Linked DNA regions of Homo sapiens: all the other regions are linked to region 1. Evidence: promoter capture Hi-C in 16 types of primary human blood cells and fetal thymus (Javierre and others, 2016). All regions are on one chromosome and are shown on one strand. The core of a region is centred on a gene start or on the middle of the fragment in contact, and the rest is flanking DNA. Distances in the headings are between cores, read along the strand shown. Region 1 holds the start of DNAJC13 (DnaJ heat shock protein family (Hsp40) member C13). Region 2 overlaps LOC107986023 (a long non-coding RNA gene). Region 3 has its middle 28 kb from the start of CDV3. Region 4 has its middle 5.1 kb from the start of BFSP2-AS1. Region 5 holds the start of NUDT16 (nudix hydrolase 16). Region 6 overlaps BFSP2 (beaded filament structural protein 2).

Region 1 (3,352 bases), core at 262-2,761:
TATATGATAGATAAGCCAATAAAGTACTTTCCAAAAATCAAAGAACTGTGTTCTGGATACCGAATTTCTGACAAGTGGTTTCTATAAATTTATTTTTTTAAGGCAAATTCTGTTTCATACTCCCATAAACTCAAAGTACTGGTAATATATTATAAAACCTTATCACTGTAATTTTCCCTGCAGGCAGTAGTTTCAAACCTAGAAACCTATCAAGTCCATAAACTGAGAAAGAAAATATAGTAAGAAAGAATTACTGGGGGCAGGTTCTGAACTTCTACTTTTTTCCCCAAGACACTGTATTACAAAAGGCTCAACATAACTGTACACTATAAAGCCCTTCATAGAGGACGCAACAGCATCAGGTACAGAACCTCCTTTTTGAGGGAAATCAGAATAACGTAAAAGGGAAAAGCAGAGGGAAAATGAGAAATAATTACTTTGGGAGACCACCGCCACATTAGGGTGAAATCTTTACTTTTTTCCCCCCTCTAAGCAACGGACACAGGAAACAATCTTAAGACAAACGTGGTTAACGGAACACGCTACAAAAGGAGAAAATTTAAGGGAAGGCACTCTTAAACATAGTTAAGTATCAAGTGATTAACAGCCACTTCACTGAGCGTCTAAGTCCTACTTTACCCACTCCAAAGGCCACATTCAAAGATAAAATCACAGCAGCGGAGGAAAGGCCACGTGAATAAGCTGCCTTGCAGGAAGGAAAAGCCTTAGGGGAGAAAATGATTTTAGAAAAAGTACTGGAGAACAGACGACGCGGATGCTCATTTCCTAACAAAACGAAACAAAGCAAAGAAAGTCAGTCTGCAGGACTTGTTCGGAAGGAGGGTCGCTGACCCAAGGAAACAAGAGTTGCCGGCATCCAGCAGGAAGGGTGCTCAGACTAGGAGACTGGAAGGGAATCCCGAGGGCGGAACCCACAAGGGAATGAAGAGCCTGTGGGGTAAGGATATGTTAAGGCGAGTGGAGGAGCGTACTAGGTATAAAACAAGCAAAAAAAAGGGGTGGGGCTGGACAGGGCAGCGCCCTGAGCTAATGTCACTCAAAGCCGGGGGGGCGTCCAACGAAAGGAACCAGACCAGCAGCCTGGGGGAAGGGTAATCTGCTTCCTTAGCAGCTGCAGGCTGCAGCAGCCAAGACCACCCCGTTTTCCCTGCCCTGAGCCCCACAAAGTCCCCACGGCGTGGGAAGGGAGTAAGGCAGAGCCCCAGAGCCCAGTGCCCGGAGTCGGCTTTACCTTCGCGGGAGGCTGGAGAGGCTCCAGCCCTAGCTCCTCCCGCCGCCGGCTCAGCTTCCAGAGTGGGATGAGGCGCCCTCCGGCCTCCTCACCCTCACCACTTCCCCTTTCCCCCGCCGGGGCCCTGCAGCTCCGCTGCCGCGGGTTCCTGGTGCCGCCGCGGCGCTGCCTCCCCGCCCCCTCCGCCTCCTCCCTCTGCCTCTCAGAGTTTCACTCTGGAGGCCGCCATCTTCGCTCAGGCTTTGAGCGAGCGCGCTCTAATACGCCTGCGTCGCCACCGCCCAGGCTGTCACGAGACCCAGTCAGCTGATTTCAACTCTTCCGTCTTCTGCCCCGCCCTCCCCGTCCTCCCCGTCCCGATCGTTCTTTCCCTGAAATTCTGCTTTCCTCCGGCCAGCCCCCAGCAGCTACACATGCGCAGAGTAACGACACCGGCCGTGGGATTTGGATTCCACGCAGCGCGTCAGGGGGCTGGCGCCTCGGTGGGTGCTGAAAAGGACACGCCCCTGGGCGCGCGCGGGTGCCCATGACCACGCCCCTCCGGCGGGTGCCCATGACCACGCCCCTCCGGCGTGTGCCTTAGGGCCGCGCCCCTCCGCTTATGTCCTGCGGAGAGTAGGGTCGCAACCCGGTACTTAAGCTTTAAGTCCGAGGAAATCTTGTTTTAAATCACCTCTTTTTAGCTCTTGCCGTCAAGTGCCATGGAGCATCTGCGAGGCAGTCTGAAGCCTCAGCCTATCTCCTGGTTTGGCTGGATTGGGAGCCAGCAGGTTCATTTACTATTGAGACGTCCTGAACGACAGCAGAGCAGGGTTTAAGTTATGGATGCTCTGGAAGGTCTCAGAGACCAAATTCTCAGAGACGCCTAAGGCATTTGCAGGTGGGAATGCTGGAAAGATAGTTCTGGTAGCCCCATTTATTGTGTCCGGATCAAGTGTTTAGAAGTTTACTTAAAGCTGCTTAATCTTCAACTCTCTGAGATACGAATCATCCTCGTTTTGCAGATAAGTTGAGGCCCAGCCTCAGAGTAGTGGATTTCATGTTTGCACCCAAGTAATTTGAACCCAGAACCTGTGCCCTCTAGATAACCATCTTCCTGAACCTCACCTGAGAGGGAAGTCAGGGCAGTGAAAAGAGGGGATATTGGGACTAAAGGATTCGGCTAGAAATTATGTGTTATCTGTGGGCAATGGTTTAAATAAGAAAGGTCAATGTCCACTCCCAGATCTGAGCCGTAAAGACCACAGTTTAAAAATTAGTGATTAAAAAAAAAATAGTGATTCTGCTGCAGACTTCAGAGTAGAGGCAGTGTAGGGTGACCTGCATGGATACATTATTGTATAAGGGTTAAAGGTCTCTGATAAGGAGTTGAATACTCATTCTTCATGGCAGTCCTGAAATTGTGATTTCTTGGCGTCCCCTTCAGCAAGTTGGCTCATTTTATAGACAGCGATTGCAGGATGAAAAAATGTGGAAAAATGGTTTTTACAGACTTTACCTCTTGATTCTATTAACCCTTTGCCCTACCTTAGGGCGGAAAAAGACTATTTGTGTTTATCCTTAGACTTTTCTGTAATGCAGCAGTAAGATAAGGTGCATGTAAGGGAAGGTACTAGGAATAGCTGGGTGTGGGAAGACAGAACCCGAAATAGAGTAGGAAGGGAGGAGGAGGAAAAAGAAACAGGAGGGCTGTGTTAAGGGGCCTTATTGGCTTATCCCATGGAAACAGAAACGTGTTTATGTGGTTACAAAGCCTTCCAGTAATCCCAAAAGTAAATGTGGGGTATATTATTTCGATTTTAGAGAAGCAGCAGACCCAGAGAGTCCAGGAGACTTGCTAAAGGTGACCTAACTCCTAAAGGTTGAGCCAAGATTAAGACACAGGGCCTGCCTGTAACATCAAGGCCAGTGAACTGTTCAACCTCCACACTGCCTCTCTGTTCAATATTTGAGACCAATAAAATCAATTCTCGTGTTGAGAGGAGCCTTAGGCATCATGAATTGTCCCCATCCTCTGTAGTGCAAAATTGCCTCACAAGACATCTTTTTCCATTGCATTTTTATAAGCCATTTTCCTTGTATTCAGCCAACTTGCACTCT
Region 2 (3,352 bases), core at 331-2,830, 1.7 Mb after region 1:
TGACCTCAGGTGATCTGCCCACCTTGGCCTCCCAAAGTGCTGTGATTACAGGCATAAGCCACCACGCCTGGCCAAATTTAACTGAAGTTTAATTTATTAATTCCAAGTACTATTTCTCTGCTCCTTTTGAATGAATATTTATTATTTATTTTTTCATCCTTTTATTTGAGTTAATTTTGTAAAATCACTTCAAATCTTTTGTGGAAGAGAAGTGGTGAAGGATTAGAAGTGGATAATAGTGGAAGATAGAGGAATGGCTTGGATATATGTATTCTGTTTGCCCACCTCCTCCTCTGCAGCCAGCATCTCACTCACTGCCCCTTCAATCCCCCACAGTGGCCTACTCTTTGTTCCTAACTTGTCAAACTTCTCCCCACTGCTAGTCCTTTACCTTTACTCTTCCTTTCGCTTACAACACTATTCCCATTGTTCTTTATTTAGCCAAAACCTGTTCATCTCTTACATTCCAGATTAAATGCCCATATCATGGGCATGTCTTCCCTGACTGCCCCTTATTATATATTCTCGTGGACCCTGTACTTTTTCTCCATAACACTTATTATCAATGAAATCCTTTGATTTTTTTGACTAATCATCTTCTTTAAAAAACGTTAGCCCTTTCATTTCCATTTATTCAAGAACAGTTTTACCCAAGATTATACATTCCAAGAAAATTGGAATCTAGTTCTCCCTATCCTTTGTCTGCCAATTTTTTCATATGTAATGGTGAAAGAGCTTTAGGCCAGGCAGCTTAGGTGTTTTTAAATAAGACCCAGAGAAGTGATAGCAATGAAATAATTACCAACTTTTAAAAACATTTCTGCCACTTTGTTTCTCTCTGAAATATTCAATCTATATTCACATTTCTTCAATTATGCATGAAATGTTTTTTGTAGCTGTTTCTAATCCTGGATCCAGTTGAAGCTCACACATTGCATTTAAATTTCATGTCTCTTTAGAATCTTTTAATTTAGAAAAGTCCATCCATATTTTTCATGGTATTGACTCTTTGAAGAATCCAGGCTAATATTCCATTTTCTGGATCTGTCTGATTGTTTCCTGATGGTATTGCTAAATTAATTTTTCTATTCCTTTTATTTTTTATAGGCTGGAAATTGGTTCTAGAGTGGGGTTGTCTAATAAAAACATAACATAAGCCACATATGTAATTTTAAATTAGTAATCACATTTTAAAAAGTAAAAAGAGGCCGGGAGCGGTGGCTCACACCTGTAATCCCAGCACTTTGGGAGGCCAAAGTGGGCGGATCATGAGGTCAGGAGATCGAGGCTATCCTGGCTAACATGGTGAAACCCCGTCCCTACTAAAAATACAAAAAATTAGCCGGGTGTGGTGGCGGGCACCTGTAGCTCCAGCTGAGGCAGGAGAATGGCGTGAACCCAGGAGCGGAGCTTGCAGTGAGCCAAGATCCCACTACTGCACTCCAGCCTGGGCGACAAAGCGAGGCTCCGTTTCAAAAAAAAAAGTAAAAAGAAAGATTCATTTTAATTAAATATTTCCTTAACCCAATATATCTAAAATATGATTCCAACATATAATACTTATCAAAAATATATTGAGATTTTTTCATTTTTTTGTACTAAGTTCTCTAAAATCTGTATGTTTTCTGTACTAATAGCACATCTCAATTTGTAGTAGCCATATTTCAAGAACTCAATAGTCAAATGTAACTAGTGGCTATCATATTGAGCAGTGAGGTCTAGGGGCTTGATTGAATTCAGGTTACACATTCTTGGCAGCCGGGTGAGGTGACTCACACCTGTAGTCCTAGCACTTTGGGAGGCTGAGGTGGGTGGATCACTTGAGATCAGGAGTTCAAGACCAGTCTGGTCAACATGGTGTAACCCCCATCTCTACTAAAAATACAAAAATCAGCCAGGCATGGTGGCATGCACCTGTAATCCCAGCTACTTGGGAGGCTGAGGCACAATAATTGCTTGAACCCGGGAGGCAAAAGTTACAGTGAGCTTGAGATCATGTTACTGCACTCCAGCCTGGGCAACAGAGCAAGACTGTCCAAAAAAAAAAAAAAAAAAAAAAAAAAGAAAGAAAAGAAAAAAACCAAAAATATTCTTGGCAAGAATGCTTCCTGGGTGACAGTATATATTTCCCATTGCATTATATCAGGAGCCTCATAATATCTGTGTCCTACTATTAATGATACTAACTTTGATCACTTGGATAAAGGGGTTATGAAAAGGTTTTCCACTATAAAAAGTTCATTTTCATTCCTTTTTAACATAGAAAATAATCTGTAGGTATTCCTTGGGTACCATGAGACTATCTTGTTGTTCTACAACTTTTACCCAGTGATTTTAGAACCCATTGACAATCCATGTAGAAATCAATTATTGCACTGCAGGTTACAAAATGGTAATTTCTTATAATTTATTTTGCATGTATTAGCTGGCATTCTTGTATAAGAAGATAAAATATTTACTATTAACTTGAAGGAGCTGTTTACATTAGGGATCCTTCCCCCTTGCCTTATTTTTTCCCTTAGGATGCAAGGATAGCAGAGCTCACGTGGACATCTCACAGGACTGCAAGTGCACTGGTGGAGTAAGCAGCCCAGGAGAGGGAGGAAATGAACAGAGATCAGGCAGATGAATGTATTTATAAAGGCAAGGCTAACTGCTATAATTAATAAATTATGAGATTTTGCTGGCTTATAATGGGGTATACTTTTGCGTATGTAAAAGTTCTATGTGAGTGTGCCTGCTAAGCAAGGGTCTTTCTCCAGGCTGTGATTCGGGGACACAGGCTCCTATCATCTTGTGGCTCTGGCATTAACTAGGGCCTTTAAGTCTTCTGCAACCAGGTTAAAGAGGAAAGAAAGTGGAAATCATTCACCTCTTAACTATTGTGTACTAGAAATGAAACACAAAATTTCCACCTGAACTTCATAGTGAAAGCTAGTAAAATGGCTCCACTTAGATGCAAACAGTGGCGTGGGACTGAAAAATATGGTTCCTATAGTTCAGGCACTTCCCAGAAACATCTATTTTCTGTGGAAGGGGACAGTTAGCCATCACTGCCAAAATGCAGCTGCAAGGACACTGGCTAGAGGATGGTCTAGTGTTTGCTGGCTCTTTCTTAGTTTGACTTCAACAGCAGCAAGTAAATTTTATCTTTTATTTGCTTTGAAAAGAAATAGGTGAGATTTCTTTAAATAATTCTCCATGGACAGTCATGATTGCTGTTTAACAATAGAAGAAACGAAAGAAGGAAGAAAGAATGAGAAGGAAAGGAAGAAAAAAGAAAACGAAGAATTGGAAAAAAAAAGAAAAGAAAACCATATGTAGTGAGTATAGAAGGCATTGAAAAAACCCA
Region 3 (3,352 bases), core at 371-2,870, 1.1 Mb before region 1:
GTAGAGGAAAATGTTCCTTTATATTATGCCTGTGAACCTCCATGCACTGGGATGAGAGGTAACATAGGGGAAGAAATATTAGAATCCGTGGAGCTAGAATAGAATGCTTTATTTACTGGATTACCTTGGTAAAGTCACCTCACCTCTCTGTGCCTTATTTCCTACAAGCATAAAAGCTAGCCAGAAATATTCACCTCACAGAGGTATTATGAAGATTCTATGAGATCATGGACACAGAAGTGCCTGACACCTGGTTATGCTGGATCAGAGAGAAAAGAATGAAGAAATTGGAGCTAAGGAGATGTGGATTTAAATCTTGACTCCACGACTTATAACGACAACTACCATGAATTCAGTAATTTCTATGTACCAGGCTCTGTGCATTACCTTTTTTTTTTTTTTTTTCAGACGGAGTTTCGCTCTTTCGCCCAGGCTGGAGTGCAGTGGCATGATCTTGGCTCACTGCAACCTCCGCCTTCCAGTTTCAAGCAATTCCTCTACCTCAGCCTCCCAAGCAGTTAGGACTATAGGCACCCGCCATCACGCCCAGCTAATTTTTGTATTTTTAGTAGAGACGGGGTTTCACCATGTTGGCTAGGCTGGTCTCGAACTCCTGACCTCGTGATCTGCCCGCCTTGGCCTCCCAAAGTGCTGGGATTACAGGCGTGAGCCACTGTGCCCGGCCCTCTGTGCATTATCTTTAAAATCCTTGCAACGAGATAAATCAGCGGGCCGGGCTGGCGGGTCGGTGAGCGCGGCCCGGGCCGGACATGGCGGCGCTCTACGCCTGCACCAAGTGCCACCAGCGTTTCCCCTTCCAGGTGCTGTCTCAGGGGCAGCAGCTGTGCAAGGAATGTCGGATTGCACACCCTGTTGTGAAGTGCACCTACTGCAGGACTGAGTACCAGCAGGAGAGTAAAACCAATACAATATGCAAGAAATGTGCTCAGAACGTGCAGTTGTATGGAACGAGAAATTAAGGTGGACTGTGTTAAAAACACATTTAATAGGCCGAGCGTGGTGGCTCATGCCTGTAATCCCAGCACTTTGGGAGGGCGAGGCAAGAATCATGAGGTCAGGAGATCAAGACTATCGTGGCTAACACGGTGAAACCGCGTCTCTACTAAAAATACAAAAAATTAGCCAGGCGTGGTGGCATGCGCCTGTAGTCCCAGCTACTCGGGAGGCTGGGGCAGAAGAATCACTTGAACCCGGGAGGCAGAGGTTGCAGTGAGCTGAGATCATGCCACGCACTCCAGCCTGGGTGACAGAGCAAGACTCCATCTCAAAAAAAAAAAAAACAAAAAAAAAAAAACACATGTAACAAAGAAAGATTTCTCAGTTTCTTTCCTGGTTCTATTATTGACCTTAAAGAAGATATTCATATTTTGTTTTGTTCATTCATAAAATGTGGACCATTATATTCTAACATTTCACGAGAATATGAATTACAGTCATCACGTAAGTGAAATGGTGATTGCCAGAATTCTGTGGAATCCTGTAAAGGAGAGATTGTAACTTAAGCAAGATGGAGTGGCATTACCAGTTTTACTATCTGGCTCTTTAAATGTTTCTATCTGTTGAAATTCAAGATTACAAGATTACGTTAGAGGGAAGCTCTACGTGGAAGGGTAGACCTTGATAGAATCAAAATGATTTAGAGTTTGGGCATATTACTCTCTTGCTTAAAATCCTCCACGGGTTTCCAGTTGTGCTTAGAATAAAACTGAAATCCCTTCTATGGCCTGCAAGGCCCATACCCAGCTCTCAGTCTCATCTTGCATCATACTTTCTACCTCTCACCTTGCTCCAGCCATCCTGGCCACCACCCTGTAGTCTGTCTGACATGCAGATCTCACTCCGACCTTTGCACTGTCTGTCCTTGTGCCTAATGCACCCTTCTCTAGAGTCTCATAACTGGCTGATCATGTCAGGTCTCAGCTCAGGTACCACCTGCTCACAGTGACCTTTTACTGACTCCCTTAGTCATTATTTATCATACCATTTTATTGTCTTCATAGCATCTCACATATTGAAAACTAGTCTTGCTTATTTGGTTACATGTTTGTCCACCCCGACTAGAATGTGAGCTCTTTGTCCATCTCATTCTCTGCTTTATTTCCAGTGGCCTGGCACATAGTAGCTGCTCAATAAGTATTTGTTGAATAAAAGATGGCAGTTGAGAAACTCTTTTTCAGTGACCAGAGGTGCTTTTAAGAGGTGCTTGGGCTCAAGGGGTGACTCTTGCTTACCAAATTCATTAACTTACAATGGAAGGATATAACTTTCCATTGACCAGGATACTCCTGCCTGCCAACCAGGACACCTCTTCCCTGTATCAAGATACTGAAGAATCTTAATTAGTAATCAGGAGGTAGCACAAGCAGCAGTCCCCCAAACCTGGGTCCCATCTGACTCCTGGGGCTAGCTGAATGACCCTGGCTACTTGGCCGCATTATGCATCACTTTCTTCATCTTTCTCCATGGGAATAACAATAGTTATTGTCTCACAAAGACATGTCTCACAAAGACATGGGGAAATGTAATTCAGATAGGTATATAAAACAATAATATTGAACCTGGCACATAATATAACTCAGAAAAAAATAAATAAATAAAATCCTTGCAACAACTCAGCATGAATGAAAGAATCATGATTATTATCCTCATTTTACAAATGAGGAAACTGAGGCACAGAGAGGTTAAAATAACTTGCCCAAGGCTTCACACAGGTAAGTGGTGAAGCCAGCCTATCTGATTCCAGAGCTTGTACTTTCTAGCTATGTAATTTAGTATAAGCCCCATAAGTTTTCTTATCCTCAGTTTCTACAGCTATAAAATGAGGGCATCTTTGTGAGGATTAAGAATAATGTATATAGGCTGGGCGTGGTGGCTCATGCCTGTAATCATAGCACTTTGTGAGGCTGAAGTGGGCAAATCACTTGAGGTCAGGAGTTCGAAATCAGCCTGGCCAACATGGTGAAACCCTGTCTCTACTAAAAATACAAAAATTAGCCAGGTGTAATGGTGCATGCCTGTGATCCCGGCTAGTTGGGAGGCTGAGGTAGAATTGCTTCAATCTGGGACACGGAGGTTGCATTGAGACAAGATCGTGCCATTGCACTCCAGCCTGGGTGACAGAGTGAGACTCCATCTCAAAAAAAAAAAGAAAAAAAGGAAAAGAAAATTTAAGAATAATGTATATAAAATGACTGTCACGGCAGTTCCTGATATTTCATAGATATTAACTATTTTTACTAACTCCTCAGTGTTACGGATTGAATTGCATTCCCTTGAAAGATGTTGAAGTTCTAACCCGTAGTGCCTGTGAATGTGACCTTATTTGGAAATG
Region 4 (3,352 bases), core at 289-2,788, 1.1 Mb before region 1:
AATTTTTTAATCTAGAAAGAAAATGATAGACATAGAAAAGGGCAAAGATAATCCTTTGATGGCTTTGAAGTAGAGAGTCTAACAAATAAAACCAGAAAAATATATTCAGAGATATAATACAAAACAAATGCCCCAAGAAGAAAAAAGAAGAGAATTTTCAGGCAGATAAAACATAGCATTCATTTGGAAAAATTGATTAAGAATGATGCTAATCAGCCAGGCACGGCTGATTATTGTACTTTTAGTAGAGATGGGGTTTCACCAGGTTGGCCGGGCTGGTCTTGAATTCCTGACCTCAAGTGATCTGCCCACCTCAGCCTCCCAAAGTGCTGAGATTACAGGTGTGAGCCACCGTGCCCAGACTATAAAGCTTGATAAAGTAGAAATGATATGAGCAACAAACAAGAGTGAAAGAGAAGGGAAAAGGAAGAAATATACCTATGCCAATAATTACATGTTTTATAGTATAGAGAGAATTGATACTATGTAAAAATGAAACATGCACTTAAAAGTAATGTATAACATTCCAACCTCTTAACAGCTTTCATTTTTTTAAACCTATAGAAACAGAAGAATCCTATAACAACGAATATTTCCTAAGGTGAAAAAAATGTGTTAAAAGTCTAACATTTCTTTCAATTTAATTTCATTTTTTCTTGTGTTAAGTTCAAGTGAAATTAAACTAAAAACTCAGTTTTCTTAAAAAGCAGCATAAGTTGGGTATGGTGGCTCACTTCCATAATCTCAGAACTTTGGGAGGCTGAGGTGGAAGGATTGTTTGAGCCCAGGACTTCAAGACTAGCCTGGGCAACATAGTAAGACTCCGTCTCTATTTAAAATTTAAGGCCTGGTGTGGTGGTTCAAACCTGTAACCCCAGCACTTTGTGGGGCCGAGGCGGGTGGATCGCTTAAACACAGGAGTTTGAGACCAGCCTGGGCAACATGGTGAAACCCCACCTCTACAAAAAAAAAAAAAAAATTAGCCTGGTGTGGTGGTACATACCTGTAGTCCCTACTTGAGAATCTGAGATGGGAGGGCTAATTGATTGAGCTGGGGAGGTCAAGGCTGCAGTGAGCTGAAATTGCACCGCTGCACCCGCTGCACTCCAGCCTGGGTGACAGAGCAAGACCCTGTCTCAGAAAAAAAAAAAAAAACAAAATCAAAAACAACAACAACAAAAGAACAAAAACAGCATGTATAGCATGAACCTAATCTTTTATACAGTTATAAGAAAATTAGGAAATAAACATTGATACAATATTATTATCTAACTTACAGACTTTATTTAAATTCCATCAGTTGTCCAAAATGTGTCCTTTGTAACAAAAGAAAACAATTTTCTGGTCCAGGATACAATCCAGGTTCATGGGTTGCATTTAGTTGTCAGGTTTCTTTAGTTTTCTTTAATCTGCACAGTTCCTCAGTCTTCCCTTGTCTTTTATAAACTTGATGTTTTTTGGGTTGTACAGGCCAATGATTTTGTAGACTGTGCCTCCATTTGAGCTTGTCTGATGTTTTCTCAGGATTAGATTTGGATTACGCATTTTTGGTAAAAATATCATAGGAGTGATATTTTTTCCTCAATTCATCATCAGAACTGGCCTGTGGTGATGCTGCAGGGAGGGGCAGGGCAATAAATACACTGACCTCACTCTCTTTCGTCCCTCATTCTCCTGCTGGTGCTCCCTATTGCTGGAATACACTGGTGTTCAGCAGGAGGAGCACCCATTCACATAGCCCAGGTACAGAGTAGGTCCTGAAGCCAAGTGCTCAGTCCATGAGGTTTCAGGAGGAAGTCAGGAGTTGCTTTTTAGTGGAGACTAACTGACAACAGTGGTGGACATAGCCTTTCTCAAATATCCTATGACTGTTATTCTCCTACTGTGGCGTGCCAAGGGTTCTATATGTTACCTTTGTCTGCAACAGATACTTCCACAATTATTGGGCATGCTGGTCATAGGTGCAGTGGCAGGCAGCTGGCTCCACACCTCAGCTTGCTACAGATGCCTTTTTGCTCTAGGCCCTGCTCAAAACTTGCAGCCCCTCCATGTGTTCATGCTGATATAAACACACACACACCACACACACACACACACACACACACACACACACACACACAATAGGGAAGAAAGGAACATTCTTTCTTTCTTTCTTTCTTTTTTTTTGAGATGGAGTTTCGCTCTTGTTGCCTAGGCTGGAGTGCAATGGTGCAATATTGGCTCACCACAACCTCCGCCTCCCAGGTTCAAGCAATTCTCCTGCCTCAGCCTCCCGAGTAGCTGGGATTACAGGCATGTGCCACCACGCCCAGCTAATTTTGTATTTTTAGTAGAGACAGCGTTTCTCTATGTTGATCAAGCTGGTCTTGAACTCCCGACCTCAGGTGATCCTCCTGCCTTGGCCTCTCAAAGTGCTGGGATTACAGGCGCGAGCCACCGTGCCCGGCCAGAACATTTTTTCTTATAGAAGAAAGCCAACTAAAAAATGTAGAAGAAATGATGGAATTTGAAAATCACCATTTGGCAACCATAATAAGTAATAATTGACGTGGGCAGGAATCATCAATTGATGCTAAAACTAAAACTTCTGGGACAGAAAGTTTGAGGAATAACAATATTTACTCAAAATAGACTAAAAATATTTTTCCACAAGATACTTACTAATTACAAATGGAAAAACAGTAACTTTACAGTGGAGAAGCTTGGCACACGCCACCTGAACCCAGTAAACAAAATTAATATCACCAGGAGAGGGACATATTGATATCACATGCCTCCTGGTGAGTTTTATGGTATTCCAACTGAAAGTGTGCAACTTGAATCTAACCTGAGGAAATACCAGAACTCAAGTTGAGGAGTATTTTGTAAAATAACTGCCCTGTTGAGACGGATTGAACTGTGACTCCAAAAAAAGATATGTTGAAGTTTGAATCCCCACTATGTCAGAACGTGACCTGATTTGGAAATAAGAGTTGTTGCAGATGTAATTAATTAAGATGAGGTCCTACTAGAGGAGAATGGGCCTTTAATCCAATATGACAGGTATCCTTATTAGAAGAGAAGAAAAGCCACAGAGACACAGACACGCAAAGGGAGAACAACACGTGAAGACAGAGGCAGGGGCTGCAGGGCTGCAGCTGCAAACCAAGGCACACCAGGGGCTGCCGGCAACCACTGGAAGCTGGGAATATGCAAGAAAAGATTCCCCCTACAGGTTTCTGGGGGGAGCACAGCCCCGCTGACACCTTGATTTTGGACTTCTAGCTATCAGAGCAGTGGGAAAATAACTTTGTGCTGTTTAAAGCCATCCGGTTTGTAATCATTTGTTATGGCCGGCCTAGGAAACTAATAC
Region 5 (3,352 bases), core at 431-2,930, 1.0 Mb after region 1:
GGTATCATGTATCATCTCTCAGATCCAATAAGAAAACATTCCCACGTCCTTCCCTCCCTCCCTAGTACCAAGGTCCTCATCTCAGTTTTCATGGGTCCATGGAGGGCTGCCTCTAGTGATGAGCTGGAATCTTAAGGCCTGAAATAGAGCCAGACTGCAGCAGTCCCAAGTCCTGGAGAGCTTCAAGTAACTGCTCCCGCGCAGAGCCAATAAAGGAATTCTCCAGGAAGGTAGGCAGGCCTCCTACACCATCCCGCAGGGTATACAGGGGCACTCGCACCAGGCCCAGCACCTGTAAAAGGAAGGAGACAGGAGACACTAGGGCCCCAGGTGGCTCATTCCCTTAACTCCATCCTTTCTCCAGCAGATCAGGCCTCACCCCTTAATACTCCAGCAGAACCAGGCCCAAGGCTCACACCTCACTAAAGCCTAGTGGCCCAACCTTCTGCAGGAAAATGACCCAAAACATATTATCTAGCTCTATCAATTAATCTTTCCCACATCTGCTTCTAAACCTCTAGTGGCTACTGCCTCAAAGATGTATTCATACCCTTTCACCAGTGGTTGTCAAAATGTGGTCCTCAGATTATTTGCATCAGCATTATTTGGGAACTTTTGAAAACTACAAATTCTCAGGTTTCCTCTCCCCCCGCCCCACCACCAATGCAGGAATGCTGAGAGAAATCGCTATTTTAATAAGACGCCCCGATGATTCTGCTACCTGCCAAATTTTGAGAACCACCTTCATACATAATCTATCTACTAGCCCTGCCTGAAATATCAGGGCCACATCTCCTACACAAGAAAAGCAAACCCCAAGAATAAAACCTAGGTTGCCACACCTAGATAATGTGATAATCTATCACACTGTCAATAGGGAACAGCAGAGAGACATGGATGAGTGTGTTCTAGAAAGGATCTCTCCTGGTAAAGGGTGGGAAAGACCTTTACAGAAAGCCCAGGTTGGCAGTACTAATTCAGAGTATAGATGATCACGATCCCAACTCCACCAAGAAAGCTGGGGAGAGGGCAAGGTCAGAGGGGCAAAGACTTTTCTCCAGGGATGCTTTCTTGGGGGAGAGAAAGCTTTGGGAGAAGAGGAAATTGGGAAAGGGACAGAGTCCCAGGCTGGTCCCACCTCCAGCCCGTGGTCCTTGGCGCGTGTTGCGCCGGCCTCCACAGCCAACAGCTCCTCGAGCGTCAGACGCTTGGCATAGAAGTGGGCCACAACGCGTGGCCCTGACCCGACGTGGGAGCTGCGGTAGTCAGTGCGCTCCACGCGGAAAGCGGCAGCCGCTTCGCCCAGCTCCTCGCGCAGCTCGCGGTTCAGCCCGTCCTCTAGGCTTCTGTCCTGCGTGTCCACGAATCCGCCGGGGAAGCCCAGGCGTCCATCGAAGCGCATCTGCATCTGCGGGAGGGGGAAGCGGGGATTGGCAGGGGCGCCCCAGAGGAGACCACCAGAGAGGGTGCGGGGCTCAGGCAGAAAGTGGCCGGGCGCGCCCCCTTCTCACCAGTATGGCGTAGCGCAGCGGGATGCGGCCGAAGAGCATCCCAGGGTCCGGCGCGTAGAGGAGAGCGTGGCACGCATGACGCCAGCCCGACCCCAGCGCCAGGGCCTCGCCTAGCTCCAGCCTGCGGGCTCCGGCCATGGCCGGACACTGCTCCTCTGCTGTCCCGAAGGCCCAATGGGCAGAGGGGCGGGTCTCACCTCGGACCAATCCGAGCCTGGGCGGTGCTGCAAGGCCCAATCCCTGCAGGGATAAGGGGAGGAACCTAGGCGCCTGGGGGCGGGGCGCCGCGACCGGTGCGGGAGGCAGCTAATCAGGGCGGGGCTTGCAGACCGGGTTGAAGTCCAGGGCCCAGGAACCCTAGGGTAACCGAAAGCAGCCTCTGGGTTGGGCCTGCGGTGGGGCGGGGCTAGAGGTGTGGCCGCGCCCTAAACCTGGCGCAAGGCCGGTACCTAAAGGCTCCTGGGAGCCAAAAGAGCAAGTCAGGGAACTAGCTTTGGTTGGGTTCGGTGGTACACAAAGCACAAGGCCTGGGTTGGGGTTAGGAGGAAATGAGACTTGCGGCGGGTCGGGGCTGAAGATGTGGCAGCGCCCTGAACCTGGAGAAAGGCTGGTACGTAAACGCCTGCGTCGCAATCTGGAGTCAGCTGGAGTGTCCCGGCAGGTGAGGAAGAGCTGGGGCGCTCAGTTGAGTGCTGGGAGCCAAAGAAGTAATAACTACCTTTGGTTGGGTGTGGTGGTACACAAAGCACAAGGCCTGGGTGGGGGTTAGGAGGAAATGAGGCAGGGTTGGCCTCAGACACCAAGGCCTATCCTAGGGAAATGGAGATGGACAGGCGCCATGGTCTGACAACTATCTTGAGTGGTGAAATTGAGGGGACTTGGTGACTGAGTGAATGGGGAAGAGGGAGCGCTGGGCTAGTGGTGGTTCCGAGTTTCCTGGATGTGGTGTCATTTTCTGAGAGGGGGAGAGTAGGAGAAGGGTGAGCAGTGATAAGTGTAGTTCTAAGGAATTGGGGTGGCCATAGGCAGTGGGCAGCTGATCGTGGGGGTCTGACGCACAGGGAGTGGCACATAGAGAAGTCACAGGGCAGTGAGATTTTCAGGGGAAGGGTGGGGGTGGAAGGAGCTGTGAGTGAAATCCTGTGGCACAGGACTGGGAGTGAGGAGGGGTGAGAGATAGAAGAAGCCTCCTAGGCTTTCTAGTCTTTCCCTCAAACCCCCTCAGACCTCTGAGCTATGAAGGAGGGTGGGTTACCCTACCACAAGGGCAGAGGCCTACTCAGGGCCTGATGCTGAGATGCAGGATCCCTCACTCCAGGCCAGGCCTTCCCCACCCTGCAGAGCGCCCCTACACCAGGTGTCGATATTGATTATGCAATAGAAAGCAGGAGGCAGCTCCTTGAGGGGGGCTGGGCATAAACTCACAGCCTGTAAGTGACGGCATATGGTGGGAAAGAGTCCGGACCCACCCAGAAACAGGTTTGTGACCTTAACAAGTCACTTAACTCTCTCAGATCCCAGCAGCTCATCTGTTAAGTGGAGATGATACCAACCTATTAGGGATGTTGAGATATGTTAGGCACTTAGAACAGTGCCAGGCAGAAAGTAAATGTAGCCATTCTTGGAGTTGAGGGTTGGGGCACAGTGCTATGTCTTACGTTGAGGAGCCAGGGCTGGGCACATACCTATAATCCCAGCACTGTGAGAGGCGAGGTGAGAGGATCATTCAAGGTCATGAATTTGAGACCAGTCTGGGCAACATAGCGAGACCCCGTCTCTACAAAAAATAATAATAATAAATAAAGACCCAAGTGTTGGAACTGAGCTGCACTCATCACGCT
Region 6 (3,352 bases), core at 483-2,982, 1.0 Mb before region 1:
TGGCCCTGCCCCCAGGCCTGCTCTAGCTGCCTCCCTGCTGCACCTGGAATCCCTCTGTGCCTTTGCACCTGCTGCCTCCATTGAGAGCAACTTGTTTCACTACCTCCCCACTCCCAGCCCTCAGTCTGAGAAAGCCTGCTCCAGTATAATGCTCATTTCAAACACGGCTTCCCCATGAAACTTTTCTATTTATTCACTCATTCATTCTTGCCTTAATTTCTTCAGCACATAATTACTGTTTATGCCAGGCTCTGTCCTGTTTGTTGAGAAACCAGCCGCTACTGTAGGAGATGAGGTTAAAAAGGTAGACAAGACCAGACCATAGAGGGAAGGCCTTGGGCACAATGGAAAGGAGTTGAGATTTACTGGGAAGCCTTTGAAAGGGCTTGAGCAGGTTACAGAGGTGATCTGTGCACTAAGTGGACCCTCTGACTACTGTGGGAAGAGAGGATTGGAGGAGGCAGGAGAAGATGCCAAAGAACCAGTCGGGAGGCTCTTGCGGTGGTCCAGGGAGCCCATTTTATTAATGATGGTGGCCTGGACGAACGATGTGATCATAGGGTAGGTGGAAAAATGTGGACTAGTTTAAGATGCATTTGGGGGATAGAACAGTCGGTTCTTTGTGGTGCAGTAGTTATGGGGAGAGTGAGGGAAAACAATTAGGGGTGACCGCTCCGTTTCATCCTGAGCTGTAGAGAGCATGGTGGGGCCTTTGCTGATTCTCTTCCTCCCTCATTGGCTGGTTCCTGCATCTGAGTCACAGCCCACCCCTGTGGCACATTATCCCTCTCTTACCACATTTAGTATAAATACTTTGTAGACAACGACAGTGTTTTCTTATTCTGGAAACTGGCTCCTCCATTCACAAGCATGGGTCAGTTGCTTAGAGTAAGTAATTCTAAGATTTGGTTTCCTCCCCCATAAAATGAAGATAATAATACTCCCTTCCTCCTGGGAGAATTAAATGAGCCAAGGTGTGTGAGACTCAGCGTATGTGTGACTCAGCAGATTGCCTGGCACAGAGTAAATATTGCATGAACGGTAGCCATTATCATCATTGTTATTTGTCTTTGTACAAAGCAGTTGTTCAATGAATGTCGAATGAATTTGATGGGTTTGTGCAGTCTGGCACTGATCCTGCTTTACTTTTCTGAAGTGCACAGGCAGTTGAATGAAGACTTCCATCTAGTGGCTTGATATATATATATGTATATATATACATATATATTTTTTTCCTTTGTTTTTCCTGTCCATAGTCATCTGAAAAGTCCTAGTCATTTGTACCATGATGGTGAGGACTTTATCTCTTTCTATAATACTACTCCTGTTTTCACTGCGGATGTAGTTATTAAAATAAATGAGCTGGTGGTGGTGGATGAGAGATTTGACCATCATTGTGTTAAAGGAAAGGCAAATACAAGCAGCGTTTTAAAAAAGGTTATCATTTGGGCCCAAGGGTACAATGAATGGTTTGTTTGGAGTAAAGATATTGGCATTCTGGCAGCTAGAGCTGCAGGTGTGGGGAGGAGGTGGGTAAGACTGAGCTCCTGGGAAATTAAACTCAGCTGGTGCAGTGGCAAGATGCAAGATTCCCTTGGAAACCCTTCCCACATTTATTTGACTTTCAAGTTTAGGATGGATGTTCAGCATAACTTGCTTCTAGCAATAAAGGAATGAGAAATAATTCTCAGTCCCTAGCACCCCAGTGATACTGCTCTTAATAACAAGGCCACCGTATTACCAAGCCCGGCAGATGCTTCTCTGTGCTCATATTGACCTGCTGGTTGCATTTGTCACAGATGTACTTTTCTGTCTCGGCTTCCATGACACCACTCTCTCTGGACTTCCTCCTACTTCATTGACCATTCTTTCTTATTATTCTCTGCTTCACCAGGTTTTTCTTCCTTATCTGACCTCTAAATGTTAAAGTTTTTCAAGATTGGGTCTTGGTGCTTCTTTTTTTTAATCACTAAATGGTCTGATCTATCCACACAGATTTAAATGGCATTGTATGTGCTAATGACTTTCACATTTAAATGTCTATCTCAGAACTTTCTGCTCAGCTCCACACTTGCATACTCACCCTCTCTTTGAGGTCTTCACTTGGCTATTTCTCAGACATCTCAAACTTAACATGTCCCCGAATGAAAATCTAGATAATTTTGGCCGGGTGCGGTGGCTCACGCCTGGAATCCCAGCACTTTGGGAGGCTGAGGTGGGTGGATTACCTGAGGTCAGTTGTTCCAGACCAGCCTGGCCAACATAGTGAAACCCCTGCCTCTACTAAAAATACAAAAAATTAGCTGGGCGTGGTTGCACGCACCTGTAATTCCAGCTATTTAGGAGGCTGAGGCAGGATCATGGCTTGAACCCAGGAGGCAGAGGTAGCAGTGAGCTGAGATCGCACCACTGCACTCCAGCCTGGGCAACAAGAGTGAAAATCCATTAAAAAAAAAAAAAAGAAAATCTAGATAATTTCCCCACAAATCTTCCCTTTCCCCACCACCCCTTGATCCTCTTCATCTCAGTAAACAACCCCAATGTCTACCCGGAAACCAAGGGATCATCTTGATCTCTCACTTTCTGTCATCTCCCACATCTCATTTATCACTGAGTCTAGTCAATTCTACCCCCACAATGTATCTCAAATCCATTTATTTCTCTCTACCTCTCTTGACATCACCCTAGTGCAAGTCCCCATCATGCTCTCCTATCCCATTATAATATCCCATTGTAATATCCTTCCAACTCCCTGATCTGTACCTCCCTCCTCCAATGCATTCTGCATCCTGCTTCCAGAGTGGGCTTTTTAAACTCTTAAAATCATATCATGTCACTCTGATTAAACTAAATTAAAACTCTTCAGAGGGGCTAGGTGTGGTGGTTCACGCCTATAAGCCCAGCACTTTGGGAGGACAGGGTGGGTGGATTGCTTGAGCCTAGAAGTTTGAGACCAGCCTGGGCAACATAGCAAAACCCTATCTCTCCAAAAAACAAAACAAAACAAAAAAACAGAATTTATCCAGGTGTCATGATGTGCACCCACAGTCCAGCTACTTGGGAGACTGATGTGGGAGGATCTCTTGAGGCCAGGAGGTCGAGGCTGCAGTGAGCTATGATTGCACCACTGCACTCCAGCCTGAGAGACAGAGTGAAAGTGAAAGCCCATCTCAGAACAAAAACAACACACAAAACAAAACAAAACTCTATAGAAGTGTCTCTTATACTTAGAGTAAAACCCAGTCTTCTGAAGTGGCCTTCAAGGCCCTGCATGCTTGTTACTCTTCCATTGCTCCAAAGGCTCCAGCCATGTGGGTCTTGGTCTTTCTGGACCATACCAGTCCCTCTCCTG

What was found. The method cuts DNA at HindIII sites, captures the fragments that hold promoters and counts their contacts. A CHiCAGO score of 5 or more calls a contact.
Region 2: a fragment that was not itself captured here is called in contact with the fragment with the promoter of DNAJC13 in region 1 in 1 of 17 cell types (fetal thymus); the score reaches 5.4 in fetal thymus.
Region 3: a contact is called between a fragment that was not itself captured here and the fragment with the promoter of DNAJC13 in region 1, in 1 of 17 cell types (M0 macrophages). The highest score is 6.0, in M0 macrophages.
Region 4: a contact is called between a fragment that was not itself captured here and the fragment with the promoter of DNAJC13 in region 1, in 1 of 17 cell types (non-activated CD4 T cells). The highest score is 5.4, in non-activated CD4 T cells.
Region 5: a contact is called between the fragment with the promoter of NUDT16 here and the fragment with the promoter of DNAJC13 in region 1, in 2 of 17 cell types (total B cells and activated CD4 T cells). The highest score is 8.3, in total B cells.
Region 6: a contact is called between a fragment that was not itself captured here and the fragment with the promoter of DNAJC13 in region 1, in 1 of 17 cell types (fetal thymus). The highest score is 5.1, in fetal thymus.

What each region holds. Positions count from the first base shown.
Region 1 is chr3:132,415,661-132,419,012 of GRCh38, reverse strand. It overlaps DNAJC13 (DnaJ heat shock protein family (Hsp40) member C13), which reads right to left and starts at 1,511. Exons shown (of 56, transcript NM_015268.4): 1 at 1,253-1,511. RefSeq lists enhancers at 647-1,182, 1,122-1,271 and silencers at 1,302-1,441, 1,722-1,821. The HindIII fragment of the contact is 2,245 bases long and covers 1-1,894 here.
Region 2 is chr3:130,750,568-130,753,919 of GRCh38, reverse strand. It overlaps LOC107986023 (a long non-coding RNA gene), which reads left to right. Exons shown (of 3, transcript XR_001740492.2): 3 at 2,523-2,617. Among named protein-coding and RNA genes, the nearest start is that of PIK3R4, 5.4 kb to the right of the region's middle. The HindIII fragment of the contact is 3,872 bases long and covers 1-3,352 here.
Region 3 is chr3:133,543,690-133,547,041 of GRCh38, reverse strand. It overlaps the pseudogene FAM76AP1. Among named protein-coding and RNA genes, the nearest start is that of CDV3, 28 kb to the left of the region's middle. The HindIII fragment of the contact is 5,393 bases long and covers 1-3,352 here.
Region 4 is chr3:133,494,518-133,497,869 of GRCh38, reverse strand. No RefSeq gene overlaps it. Among named protein-coding and RNA genes, the nearest start is that of BFSP2-AS1, 5.1 kb to the right of the region's middle. The HindIII fragment of the contact is 2,331 bases long and covers 373-2,703 here.
Region 5 is chr3:131,380,102-131,383,453 of GRCh38, reverse strand. NUDT16 (nudix hydrolase 16) reads right to left here and starts at 1,680. Exons shown (of 3, transcript NM_152395.3): 1 at 1,512-1,680; 2 at 1,139-1,408; 3 at 1-292. The coding sequence starts at 1,649. The coding sequence ends at 113. It overlaps NUDT16-DT (NUDT16 divergent transcript), which reads left to right and starts at 1,979. Exons shown (of 4, transcript NR_038976.1): 1 at 1,979-2,121. RefSeq lists enhancers at 672-1,240, 1,241-1,810, 2,102-2,371 and a silencer at 1,692-1,991. The HindIII fragment of the contact is 2,474 bases long and covers 1,089-3,352 here.
Region 6 is chr3:133,441,972-133,445,323 of GRCh38, reverse strand. The region is part of intron 1 of BFSP2 (beaded filament structural protein 2); the gene reads right to left. The region is part of intron 2 of BFSP2-AS1 (BFSP2 antisense RNA 1); the gene reads left to right. Among named protein-coding and RNA genes, the nearest start is that of BFSP2, 44 kb to the right of the region's middle. RefSeq lists an enhancer at 3,087-3,352. The HindIII fragment of the contact is 3,562 bases long and covers 1-3,352 here.